Linked DNA regions of Homo sapiens: all the other regions are linked to region 2. The links are contacts of gene promoters, found by promoter capture Hi-C in human tissues and cell types (Jung and others, 2019). All regions are on one chromosome and are shown on one strand. Each heading gives the region's core, a stretch centred on a gene start or on the middle of the fragment in contact. The rest is flanking DNA. Distances are from core to core; before and after follow the strand shown. Region 1 overlaps GPNMB (glycoprotein nmb). Region 2 holds the start of FAM221A (family with sequence similarity 221 member A). Region 3 overlaps IGF2BP3 (insulin like growth factor 2 mRNA binding protein 3).

Region 1 (4,397 bases), core at 1,188-3,687, 410 kb before region 2:
ACCAGTACTGGCCATCGGTCTGGGGGTGGGGGACCCCTGCGTTAAAGCACTTACTTCACTCCTTAATTGGAGTATTGTCAGGTACAATCTAATAGCTCATTCACTTATAACTCCTTTGAACTTGAAGCCTATCTCATAAGGTAATATGTTCTTAAACATGTATTTCCAGCTACAAAAACAAACAAACAAACAAACAAAAACACATATTTCCAGCTGGGCGCGGTGGCTCACGCCTGTAATCCCAGCACTTTGGGAGGCCAAGGTGGGCAGATCACTTGAGATCAGGAGTTCCAGGCCAGCCTGGCCAACATAGTGAAACCCCATCTCTACTAAAAATACAAAAATTAGCCAGGCATGGTGGTGGGCGCCTGTAGTCCCAGCTACTCGGGAGGCTGAGGTAGGAGAATAATTTGAACCCTGGAGGCAGAGGTTGCAGTGAGCTGAGATGAAGACACTGCACTCCAGCCTGGCCAACAGAGTGAGACTCCATCTCAAACAAACAAACACAACAAAAAAAACTAAAAAAAAAATTTTCTCATTAATAATATAAATGGCAGTTTTAATCCCATTAAAAGAAGAGATTTAATCCCATTAAAAGAAAATAATCATACATCTAATTATTTGCGTGAGGGCTTATTGTTGGTGATATCCAAGGTGCAGATTTAAAAGCAAAACCAACGATGCAAGGGTGCCCTGCTTCCTGCCCAGGAAGGTGGATCAGGGCCTGGGTGGAGAGCCGGGGAGGGTGGGAACTGGAGAAGGGAGCCAAAACCTCTGCATCCAAGTGGCCATGGACTCGGATGCAGTCACCATCAGAAGCTGCTAATGTTATTCCTTCAGTGCTGCCACAGCTCAAAGTTTGTTTAGAATTACCTTTAGAGTCTTAATTCATTCTATTAAGCTTCCTCTGCACTGGCAAACCACTGATCTCTTATGTGAATTAGATGTTTTAGACATTTGCTTTCCTTTAATTCTTCTTGTAGTGAGTGATAACTTTAGGTGGGACCTGAGTCATTTTCAAAAGCCAAATAAAGAAAGCTCAGAATGCCAGGCACAGTGGAACATACCTGTAGTCCCAGCTACTCAGGAGGCTGGGGCGGGAGGATCCCTTGAGCCCAGAAGTCCAGCCTGGGCAGCACAGCAAAACCCTGTCTGAAAGAGAGAGAGAGAGAAAGAGAGAGAAAAAGAGAGAGAGAAAGAGAGAGAGAGTGAGAAAGAGAAAATGAATGCTCAGAAGGAAAGGTTTTAATTCAGTGGGGATTGCAGCTTAATAGCTTGGGTTTCAAAGGCAGAATTTCAGAAATAGATCATTCTTCAAAGCAAACCTATAGACTTTAGTTGAAGTGACTTTTATGTATCGATTCAATGGATATTCATGAAGCACCTGCAATTCTTTCAACAAATATCCCTGAGCATCTACTCCATGCTCAGCACAGTTCTAGGCAGAAGATACAGTTCTAGATCGAGTAGAAACCAAGACAAAGAAGTCCCTGCTTCTGTGAGCAGTGACAGATGTTACATGGAAAACTTTAAAGGTGGTGATCTTTTTTTTTTTTTTTGAGGCAAGGTCTTGCTCTGTCACCCAGGCTGCAGTGCAGTAGGGTAATCATGGCTCACTGCAGCCTCGACCTCCCGGGCTCAAGCAATCCTTGACTTCTGCCTCCTGAGTAGCTGGCACCACAGGCATGCGCCACCATGCCAGGCTAATTTTTTAATTTTTTGTAGAGCTGGGGTCTCACTATGTTGCCTCTGCCTCCCAAAGTGCTGGTATTACAGGCATGAGCCGGGGAAGGGCACTCCTGTAAGGGGGCACGGAGGTCTGAAAGAGCACGGGGAGTATGGCCAACTTTCAGGATTTTTAGCACAGCTAGAAGGTAAGTAGAGAGAGAGGAAGCTGGAGGCACGGCCGCCTGATCACAGGAGCCCTTCCACACGGTGGCGCTGCTGGGTCACCCAAGACCTGAGCAGGTGTCTCCAGGACGTGACATCTCTCCCCCGCGCCCTTACCACAGTGTTCCAGACATGCTGACTCATTCTCTAAATAGAAGATAAGCTGACCCAAAGACTATGTATTATTTAATAGAAAAGATTACTGAAAGCCCAGAGGGAGCCATATATCTTCTGTGACGGCTCCCTTCCTCATTTATTTAATGGCATTATAAGCGGCATGTCCTCTAGGTGGAAGACATAACTAACATGCTCTTGCTTCTGTTTTAAGACCCAGCCTCGCCTTTAAGGATGGCAAACAGTGCCCTGATCTCCGTTGGCTGCTTGGCCATATTTGTCACTGTGATCTCCCTCTTGGTGTACAAGTAAGTTTTTGGTTCCTACGCTTTATATCACTATAGTGTATTGTCAAAAGTGAATATATCTCTGTGTAAATAGGCATTTTTCCCTTTTTTGCTTTTAAACATTTTGTGTAGGGGAGGAAAATATTACATTGAATGGTGAATACCAAACTGGCCTGTTAATCTTGTTGTGGTTTGTTTTTAATCCTAAAAGATGCTACCAGATCTCAGTAACTTTACAAAATTATGTCAACTTAATTTTAACATGATAGTCTCAAATTATAGTAAGCAGGCACATTTCTTGCATGAACAAGAGTAAATAAATGTACTTTCATAAGACACCAGTGTCTTGCAAACTGTCAATCATGTTAAATGGAATGAATCCTTTTATACCTGGCATGAAAAAGATTGTAGAAAGTTGTATATTTCAACTGAAGATCTTTTAAAAATAACTAACCAACAGATTGTTTTCAGAAAACACAAGGAATACAACCCAATAGAAAATAGTCCTGGGAATGTGGTCAGAAGCAAAGGCCTGAGTGTCTTTCTCAACCGTGCAAAAGCCGTGTTCTTCCCGGGAAACCAGGAAAAGGATCCGCTACTCAAAAACCAAGAATTTAAAGGAGTTTCTTAAATTTCGACCTTGTTTCTGAAGCTCACTTTTCAGTGCCATTGATGTGAGATGTGCTGGAGTGGCTATTAACCTTTTTTTCCTAAAGATTATTGTTAAATAGATATTGTGGTTTGGGGAAGTTGAATTTTTTATAGGTTAAATGTCATTTTAGAGATGGGGAGAGGGATTATACTGCAGGCAGCTTCAGCCATGTTGTGAAACTGATAAAAGCAACTTAGCAAGGCTTCTTTTCATTATTTTTTATGTTTCACTTATAAAGTCTTAGGTAACTAGTAGGATAGAAACACTGTGTCCCGAGAGTAAGGAGAGAAGCTACTATTGATTAGAGCCTAACCCAGGTTAACTGCAAGAAGAGGCGGGATACTTTCAGCTTTCCATGTAACTGTATGCATAAAGCCAATGTAGTCCAGTTTCTAAGATCATGTTCCAAGCTAACTGAATCCCACTTCAATACACACTCATGAACTCCTGATGGAACAATAACAGGCCCAAGCCTGTGGTATGATGTGCACACTTGCTAGACTCAGAAAAAATACTACTCTCATAAATGGGTGGGAGTATTTTGGTGACAACCTACTTTGCTTGGCTGAGTGAAGGAATGATATTCATATATTCATTTATTCCATGGACATTTAGTTAGTGCTTTTTATATACCAGGCATGATGCTGAGTGACACTCTTGTGTATATTTCCAAATTTTTGTACAGTCGCTGCACATATTTGAAATCATATATTAAGACTTTCCAAAGATGAGGTCCCTGGTTTTTCATGGCAACTTGATCAGTAAGGATTTCACCTCTGTTTGTAACTAAAACCATCTACTATATGTTAGACATGACATTCTTTTTCTCTCCTTCCTGAAAAATAAAGTGTGGGAAGAGACAAGACCTTGGTATTGTAATTATTTTTCTGATTCATCATTTGCTTTTCAATTTCACTTACAGTTGTTTCTTTTTTTTAGATGAGGGTCTCCCTATATTGTCCAAGCTGGTCTCAGACTCCTGGCCTCAAAGGATCCTCCTGCCTCAGCATCCCAAAGCGCTGGGATTACAGGAGTAAGCCACTGTACCCAGCCTCAATTTCATTTATAGTTTTTGACAAGTAAAAAGTTGTTTAACAATGTCTCATAGAGCATTGATAATCTCATAAATATTTTTTACCTAACTACATATATATATATATATATATATATATATATATATATATATATATATATATATGGCTGAGCACAGTGGCTCACACCTATAATCCCAGCACTTTGGGAGGCTGAGGCAGGCAGACTGCTTAAGCTCAGCAGTTTGAGACCAGCCTGGGCAACATGATGAAACCCCGTCTCTACAAAAAATACAAAAATTAGCCAGGCCTGATGGTACATGCCTGTAGTCCCAGCTACTCAGGAGGCTGGGGTGGGAGGATCACTTCAGCCCTGGAGGTCAAGGCTGCAGTGAGCCGAGATGGTGCCACTGCACTCCAGCC
Region 2 (4,326 bases), core at 1,821-4,320:
AACTCAGGAGGTGGAGTCTGCAGTGAGCTGAGATCATGCCACTGCACTCCAGCCTGGTGACAGAGCGAGACTCCATCTCAAAAAAAAAAAAAACCCAAAAAACAAAAAACGAAAAAACAAGTTATCTGTTGGAGATACATACTGAATAATTATCTTTCTTGTCTTGTAGCTATCAACTGTCAAACCATTAAGACAATAAGAATCAGGCTGATCAGGATTAAGAATGACTGAGAGAAGATTGCAGAGACTTAGACTTTAAGCTGGGTGCAGTAGCTGGTTGAGATTTTGGGACTGCCTTACTTAGAGGTCTGATGAATGCCTTTAGTGTGCAATGCCTGCATGGGAAGAAGGGCATGCATGGATATTAATCAGTTTAAGGATAAGCTGTCACCAACCATGTTTCTTGGTGAACTAAACACATTTTTAACCCAACACACATTTCTTTTTTTCTTTTTTTTGAGATGGAGTTTCACTCTTATCACCCAGGCTGGAGTGCAATGGCGCCATCTCAGCTCACTGGAACCTCTGCCTCCTGGGTTCAAGCAATTCTCCTGCCTCAGCCACCCCAGTAGCGGGAATTACAGGCATGAGCCACCACACCTGGCTAATTTTTGTATTTTTAGTGGAGATGGTGTTTCACCATGTTGGCCAGGCTGGTCATGTACTCCTGACCTCAGGTGACCCACCTGCCTTGGCCTCCCAAAGTGCTGGGATTACAGACATGAGCCACCGTGCCCTGCCCCAACACACATTTCTAACCCTCTCCTTGACAATTGCCATCATAGAGCCTGGAAAACTAAGTACTGGATTGGCTTTCCCAGTTTTCTCTATACCAAGGTGTGGCCATGTGAGACATAAATGAAAATTTTTTTGCAGAGGCCTCTAGGAAAACTCTTTGATAAAAGAAACAAATGATGTTGGTGGCCCTCCTTTTTCCTTTCTTGAATTTGGGTATGATTTCTGGAGTTGTAACAGCTCTTGCAACCATGAGGAAAATGCTCTAAACCAATGTGAGCAACTACCTACCCCCACTCTTCTTTAAAGCAATAAAAAATAAAATTTATGTTTAATTAAGCCACTGTTAGTTGAATTATTCTGTTATTTTCAGAAGAAAGCATTCTTAACCTATACATCACAGCAAAATGCTGGCAAATCCTATCTCATAAACTTTCATGAGGATTGAATAAATAAAATGCCTAACACTTGCCTAGGCAATTTACATGTTCCTCTGTCCACCCTACTTCCTAGATCAATTTAGCTACACATTGGGAGGAAGTTATAGTTTGATTATACCTTTTTATTAAAGCAGAGGTGAGTACCATATACAGTATTTTAATTTGCAAATCTGTCAGCTTTATGTAAGGTCAGGATAACATTTTCTAGTTTGTTCCATACTCTTATTCGTCACGCTCAATATTTTTGTTGACTTCTTTGGCCAGAAGAGTTTACTGCTCCAGCATCTTCCTGGAAGAGTCCACAATTGGGCTAAATCTATTTTAACCATTTCCCTCTAGATTTTTAAATTGTACTTGCCTACACAGACATTCCCCTGCCACTTTTCTGTAAGCCTGCAGAGCCTGGCATTTTCTTCTATTTTTCTTTGTTAGTTCAGTTGCTGCCTAAAAGCAAGACTAGGCTCTCATAGAGGTAGAATGGGGCTGGGCGTGGTGGCTCACGCCTGTAATCCCAGCACTTTGGGAGGCTGAGGCGGGCAAATCACGAGGTCAGGAGATCAAGACCAGCCTGGCCAACATGGTGAAACCCTGTCTCTACTAAAAATACACACACACACACACACACAAAAGCCAGGCGTGGTGGCTAGTGCCTGTAATCCCAGCTACTCAGGAGGCTGAGGCAGGAGAATTGCTTGAACCTAGGAGGCAGAGATTGCAGTGAGTCGAGATCCCGCCACTGCACTCCAGCCTTGGAGACGGAGCAAGACCCCATCTGGGAGGTGTCGGGTGGAAGAGGTAAAATGGACAGCAGCAAACCACACGTGTGATAGGAGAGAATACTGAGCTGAGATCAGTTTCCTAAAATATGAATCCGATTTCAGGATCACTCATTTATCTGACTGTCAAGAACGCCTCTGAACAGGAGGAAGACTTTGGGGAGAGGGTGGGGTTTGTTGAAAGGGTACCGAGAAGGGAGGTGGGTGGTACCCAAACAATTTGTTTACATAATGTTTTATGGACCTGAAATATGTAGAACAGTACTTTGAAACTAAAGTACTGTACTGAAGTTTAATTATTTTTCTTATTGTTTGCATATTCTCCCTCCCAGATACTTTACAGAGGGCGCTAAAGCTGATCCCCTGGGAGCTTCAGAGTTTAATGACTTCGCCTGAAGATTTCCTATTCTTTTCCACAACGTGCTAAGTCAAATTATGGCCAAATTACCAATCGCATGGTAATTCAGCTTCTAAATATATTTTGCAGAGTGTTTCCAAAAGTTAAAAAACAACAACAAAACTTCACCTAAATTGTTTTTACTTGCTTCACCTTAAATCAGTTATTCGGTTCCTTTGAAGAACATGTAGCTTTAGCAACCCCCAAAGTGAACCCAGATACCCAGGACTACTGATTGTTACATCAGAGTTTTTGAAAACGCCAATACTGGAAACAGGCCGACAGTTAAGGAGAGGCAGGCCTCAAACTAAAGCAGAACCTTCTCAAAACTACTTATATTTCAAGAGATGGATTAAGCGAAAAGAGCTGTACAAAGAAATAAGCCATTTTCTATGCGCCTGTTATATGCAAGGCACTGCACTCCCTTGTCACTTGTTAATTTACAAGAAGACTCGCCGGTCCAGGGAAGGGAGAGGGGAATAGGTGCAAGGTTTGTGGAGGGCGGCAAACTGCACTCCATGTGGCGCGAGGCTGCGCTTGCGGAGATCCGGGTTCTGGTGCCTGGCGCCGGCAGCCAGTAGGGGCGCGCGTCCTGCGCAGTTGCCGCGCGCGGCCTCCTCGGGCTTCAGGCCGGGCCAATCAGGAGGCGGGCGGGAGGGGGCGCGGTACCGGGAGGGAACGGGGCGGGTCGGGCTTCGAGGTCAGCTGGTCCGCAGGGAAGCCTTTGGCTTCCCCACCGGCAATGGAGCGGTTGACGTTGCCTCTCGGCGGCGCGGCGGCGGTGGACGAGTACCTGGAGTACCGGAGGTGAGGCTGTGGCTCCGGGCCTGCCCCCCCGCCGCTCCGAGGGGCCAGGATCCCTGGGCTGGGGGCGCGAGCAGGGGCCCGGCGGGCGTCCGCGGGGGTTCCCGGAATCTGTGCCTGGGCTGTTGGGGGAGGCCTAGATGAATTCCAGTTTAGTCTTTGCCTAATTAAATATTGTAGGGCCACGCGGTTCTATGCAGTGATGAGTCTTCCAATAACATTTAAGAGGCCCCTCTGCTCCCTTCCAAGAAGGATGACTAACTCTAGATTGATACAGAGGTCCAGCTGTTTTTTAAATGGCCATTGAAAACAGGCACATCGAGTACTCGGGGCTATAGAAGTTAGCATACATCAAATTAACCCAGTAATTGAGTCAACCGTGAACTTCTGAACGCGCTCCCCACCCCGAGGTGCTGGTTTTAGGAGAAAGGCACCGACTGGTGTTTGGTATTCTGGAGAAACCCCTTCCGAAACTGGAAACGGAGTCGCTCCTTTGGCCTGAGGACGCGGTTCATTGTCCTGGATCCTGACCGAGGCTGGTGCACCTGCAGCGACGCGCTCTTTTTCCGCTTCCTGGGGTTTTTGATCGTCCGGAATCTGGGCGGATGGGAAGTCCTGGAGAGGACCGCCTGAGGACGCGGAGTTGGGGCGGGAGGATGTGTGTGTACAAGCGGAGGGGAGACGCTCCAGGCTCCGCCAGGGAGGCCGGAGCGAGCGACAGGGGCTCCTCTGCGGCATCGTGGGTGGCCCAGATGACCCAGAGGTGTGCGCGCAGACGGCCCCCCAGCTGACTGTTCTCCCCTGCTCTGACTGCCCTGTTTGTGTAGTTTTGGGTAACCCTTAGAACTGCCTGGATATTCTGAGCCAGAAGAATAAGGGCTAGGAGCTTGATGGGGTCAGTTCCCACGCCCGGTTCAGGGTCAGAACAACCACCATCCCGTCCTCTCCCAGAGCAGAGCCGGCTCCTTTAGCCTCCAGTTCTCCAGAGCTTTTGCCTGGGAGCAAGTTGCTGGAGCTGGTGTTGACTGATAACTTGGATATTTAGATATGTGAATTGTGGGCCTCCAGTTGACTCTTGCCTAGCTCCGAACATGTTAGGGCAGACCTATGTATGTAGTTATTTATTTTATTGAGAAATTATTTAGTTATTTATTTTATTGAGACGGGGTCTGAC
Region 3 (4,047 bases), core at 300-2,799, 330 kb before region 2:
CACCACCACCACCCACACACATTTTCCTTTGAGACAGGCACAGTGGGGAAAAAGACCACAAGTTTCCAAAGGGAACCTATGTGCCATCTCCTAATGAAAAATAGAAAAACAAAAAACATTTTGTCAAACTCTTGGTTAAGTTTAACCCATAAGGTTACTAACGGTTTAGGAATAGCTAAGCAGCAAGAGAGAAGCAAGTGGGCTTCTTGCCTTGGCTAATGTTTCCAAACCACAGTGGAAGAGACATCAGAAATATATACTTCCTTCACTTCAGCCTCTAAAATATGAAGTATTTAAAACCATTTTAAGAACCAGTGGACAAATATCTCTAAACCATTTACAAGAGACTATTCTGAGTATTAAATTCTACCAATCACACTCAGTACCTATTATGAGCCAGTCCCTGACTTTGTGGTTTACGATCTGATTTGGAGCAAAGAGGCAGGGGTGGTGATAAACCAAAAAAAAGAGTGTGCCCATTCTACCACACTATTTGGGGGAGAGTTTCTCTCTTTTTCATTTTTTTTTTTTTTTTTTTTTTTTTTTGGAGACAGAGTCTTGCTCTGTTACCCAGGCTGGAGCGCAATAGAGCCATCTTGGCTCACTGCAACCTCTGCCTCCGGGGTTCAAGAGATTCTTGTGCCTCAGCCTCCCAAGTAACTGGGATTATAGGCATGCACCATCATGCTTGGCTAATTTTTGTATTTTTAGTAGAGATGGGGTTTCACCATGTTGGCCAGGCTGGTTTTCAACTCCTGACCTCAAGTGATCTGCTGCATTGGCCTCCCAAAGTGCTGGGATTACAGGCATGAGCTACTGTACCCAGCCTCTTTTTCATTCTTGATCTTTATTTTAACATGCAAGGAAAAGTGCCCAAATCTTGAGCATAAATTTCAGTGAATTTTCACAAGGTGAACACACACATCCAGATCCAGAACTAGAACACACCAGGGCCCCGGAAGCCCCAACAGTACCTGCTTCCGGTAGTCACTGCCCCCCTACCCCTTGCAGACTTCTAATACCATAGATTAATTCTGCCTATTTAAAAATTTTATGTAAATATATATGAGTATACATGATATGTATTTTCTCATATCTGGAAACTTTTAATTTATTGTAATATTCATCCAAATTGTTGTGTTCTGTTTTCTGGGGTTTTTTGTTTGTTTGTTTTGCTTTGTTTTGTATTCATTTTGTGTGTGTGTGTTATGTTTTCAGAAGGGAAAATAATAAACTAGTAGAGACGAAATAGCCCAGATTTCATAAACATACACCTAACAATACATCCCTTTTTAACTCCCCAGTGCACAACAAAATGAAAAACAAAAAGAAAGAAGTCCCCACACTTCCCAGTGTCACTCAGGTTCTTTGCTCAGATTCTGTTCCAATGGCCCTGAGTTCACCCCAGGTGGGAAAGAAAAACAGGCATAAAATGGTCTCTTTCTAGTTGCTTGGTGTGGTCATTTCCGGCTTATACACTGCTTTATTTGCAAATCTACTCTCAATTCTTAAATAGAAAAAAGGGGGTGGAGTGGGTGACAGTTCTAGTACCAAAAAGGTCACTGAGGGCTAGGACCTGGAAGGCAGACCTGGGCAAGCAGACAGAGGGCTCGCTGACATTCTCCGGCCCAGAATGATTCTCGGTTTCTCACTTCAGTCTTCTATCACTGTCCTACCTTCTCTGGCACATGAATGAACTCTTATTGTAAAAGATCAGTCATGCAGAAAGTAGCAAGAGGTTGCTCTGGCACCGTCACCAACCCTCCAAGGCCCTTCCCAGAACTGCTGCTCACTGCAGTACTTCTACAAATGGACCAGTCCTTTCTATATGTTTACAAACACATGTATTCATATTCGGTTCCTTCATTAAAAGCATAATTGGGGTTGTGATGTACACTGCTCTGTGGCTTGTTTTTAAATACAATGTCTTGCGATATTTCCATGTGATTTCTATGTCAGAGGGCATTCTTTTCATAAGCTTCAGAGGATGATAGCTGACACATGCCACACTTATTTTGCCAATGCCTTGATGACAGAACGTTAAGTTAACGCTGTACTTTCCTCCTGTCCCCTTTTTTTCTTAAGGGAATGTGGATTAAGGGACCTAAAATATTTTGGTTATTTCTAAAGGAAGACGACAGCTGATATATTTTAATATTTATGGTGTATATTTGTTATAAAAAGTTGGAGATGCAGAAGAGTCAACCAACTACAGATTCTTTCAAAACAGCTTTATTTATTTATTTTTTTTGAAATGGACTTTCGTTCTTGTTGCCCAGGCTGGAGCACAGTGGTGCGATCTTGGCTCACTGCAACCTCCACCTCCTGGTTTCAAGCAATTCTCCTGCCTCGGCCTCCTGAGTAGCTGGGATTACAGGCGCACGCCACCACCCTCAGCTAATTTTTGTATTTTTAGTAGAGATGGGTTTTGCTATGTTGGCCAGGCTGGTCTTGAACTCTTGACCTCAGGTGATCCACCCACCTCGGCCTCCCAAAGTGCTGGGATTACAGGAGTGAGCCACCACACCTGACCTTAAATGTTTTTAAAGTCGGGAATAAACAGATCACTGAAGGTTCTTTCAAAAAATCAGGAAACTTGAACCCACTGAAGGCATCAATTACATCTAGGCATAAAAGGTAATCTAGGCTTTTTCATTATAAATGGCGTATTGCCAGCTTCAGAAGAGAGTAAGTATATTTTGACTAGTAAATTAAGTCATTAATGTTACAAAAATGGTAGATAACTCTCTTCTTGAGTGAGATAGACACATACAGATATCATTCTCCCTGGGGTAAAAGGTACACACGTCAGTTACCAGATGCTTCTATATTCTAGAACCATCTAAATAGTCACATGTATCACAAGAAACAACTTTATAACTTGGCAAAAACTAACTTCTAACTTTTATTGTGCTGCTTTAAAAAGATTTTTCTTTGTGGGGAAAAGAAAAGATTCTCTCACTGAAGAGGTCAGGTGGCCCGGGGCTCTAGTCCCCAGTGTACCTTCTGGGCCCCAATGGCTCCAAACTCAGGCTGTTCCAGGCAGAATGCAGACAGCCACTACTGTGTGTACCTGACTGTCTAATTGCCATCTAAGCAGAGTTCCTAACCCCTCAAACCACAGTGCTCCATCCACAGTCAGACACAGCTGAAAAGGTACAGGAGGAACCTAACATGCAGAATGGCGGCTTTCTCATGATTGCAGCTCCTAAATTACTGAATTTAAGTCAACTACTAGAATCTTTCTAGGCACAAAGTTTGTTATTCATCTATGTCATATGGTGATCTGCTGAGTTCACGAGGAAAAAAAATTTTAGTATTTTCACCAAACCCACCGTAGATGCAAGACATGAGATGAACGACTGTCATAATTATTTGACACATATGTATTCAGTTAAACAGAACTTAAAGATGTTTATCCAACATGTATATTACTCAGGAGCCTGGTTTTGTCTTTTTATTTTTATTTTTTTTTTTTTTGAGACAGAGTCTCACTTTTTTGCCCAGGCTGGAGCGCAATGACGCGATCTCGGCTCACTGCTGCAACCTCCACCTCCTTGGTTTGAGCAATTCTCCTTCCTCCTCCCAAGTAGCTGGGATTACAGGCGTGTACCACCACACCCAGCTAATTTTGTATTTTTTTTTCTTTTAACTAGAGACGGGGTTTCACCATGTTGGTCAGGCTGGTCTCGAACTCCTGACCTCAAGTGATCTACCTGCCTCAGCCTCCCAAAGTGCTTGGATTACAAGTGTGAGCCACAGCGCCAGACCAGGATCCTGTCATCATTACTTAACTCTTTGCTCTTGGTGCTATTTTAAGGGTCGCTGAGAAGATGATGAGTAATTTTGCCAGTTGGTAGAATTTAAATGTATTGATAAGAAGTTTACTGGGGCCAGGTGCAGTGGCTCATGCCTGTAATCCCAACACTTCGGGAGACCAAGATGGGTGGATCACTTGAGGTCAGGAGTTCAAGACCAGCTTGGACAATATGACAAAACTCTGTCTCTACTAAAAGTACAAAAATTAGCCAGGCATGGTGGCGTGAG

The links. The method cuts DNA at HindIII sites, captures the fragments that hold promoters and counts their contacts. A contact is called where the count stands out against the background at its distance.
Region 1: a fragment that was not itself captured here is called in contact with the fragment with the promoter of FAM221A in region 2 in 1 of the 25 tissues and cell types used here (IMR-90 fibroblasts).
Region 3: a fragment that was not itself captured here is called in contact with the fragment with the promoter of FAM221A in region 2 in 1 of the 25 tissues and cell types used here (H1 embryonic stem cells).

The regions. Positions count from the first base shown.
Region 1 is chr7:23,271,303-23,275,699 of GRCh38, forward strand. It overlaps GPNMB (glycoprotein nmb), which reads left to right. Exons shown (of 11, transcript NM_002510.3): 10 at 2,219-2,312; 11 at 2,763-3,806. The coding sequence ends at 2,922. Among named protein-coding and RNA genes, the nearest start is that of MALSU1, 26 kb to the right of the region's middle. RefSeq lists a silencer at 366-570. The HindIII fragment of the contact is 7,079 bases long and covers 1-4,397 here.
Region 2 is chr7:23,677,129-23,681,454 of GRCh38, forward strand. FAM221A (family with sequence similarity 221 member A) reads left to right here and starts at 3,071. Exons shown (of 7, transcript NM_199136.5): 1 at 3,071-3,155. The coding sequence starts at 3,091. RefSeq lists a silencer at 3,005-3,294 and an enhancer at 3,625-3,874. The HindIII fragment of the contact is 14,044 bases long and covers 1-4,326 here.
Region 3 is chr7:23,351,760-23,355,806 of GRCh38, forward strand. The region is part of intron 5 of IGF2BP3 (insulin like growth factor 2 mRNA binding protein 3); the gene reads right to left. Among named protein-coding and RNA genes, the nearest start is that of SNORD65C, 43 kb to the right of the region's middle. RefSeq lists a silencer at 2,962-3,121. The HindIII fragment of the contact is 5,856 bases long and covers 1-4,047 here.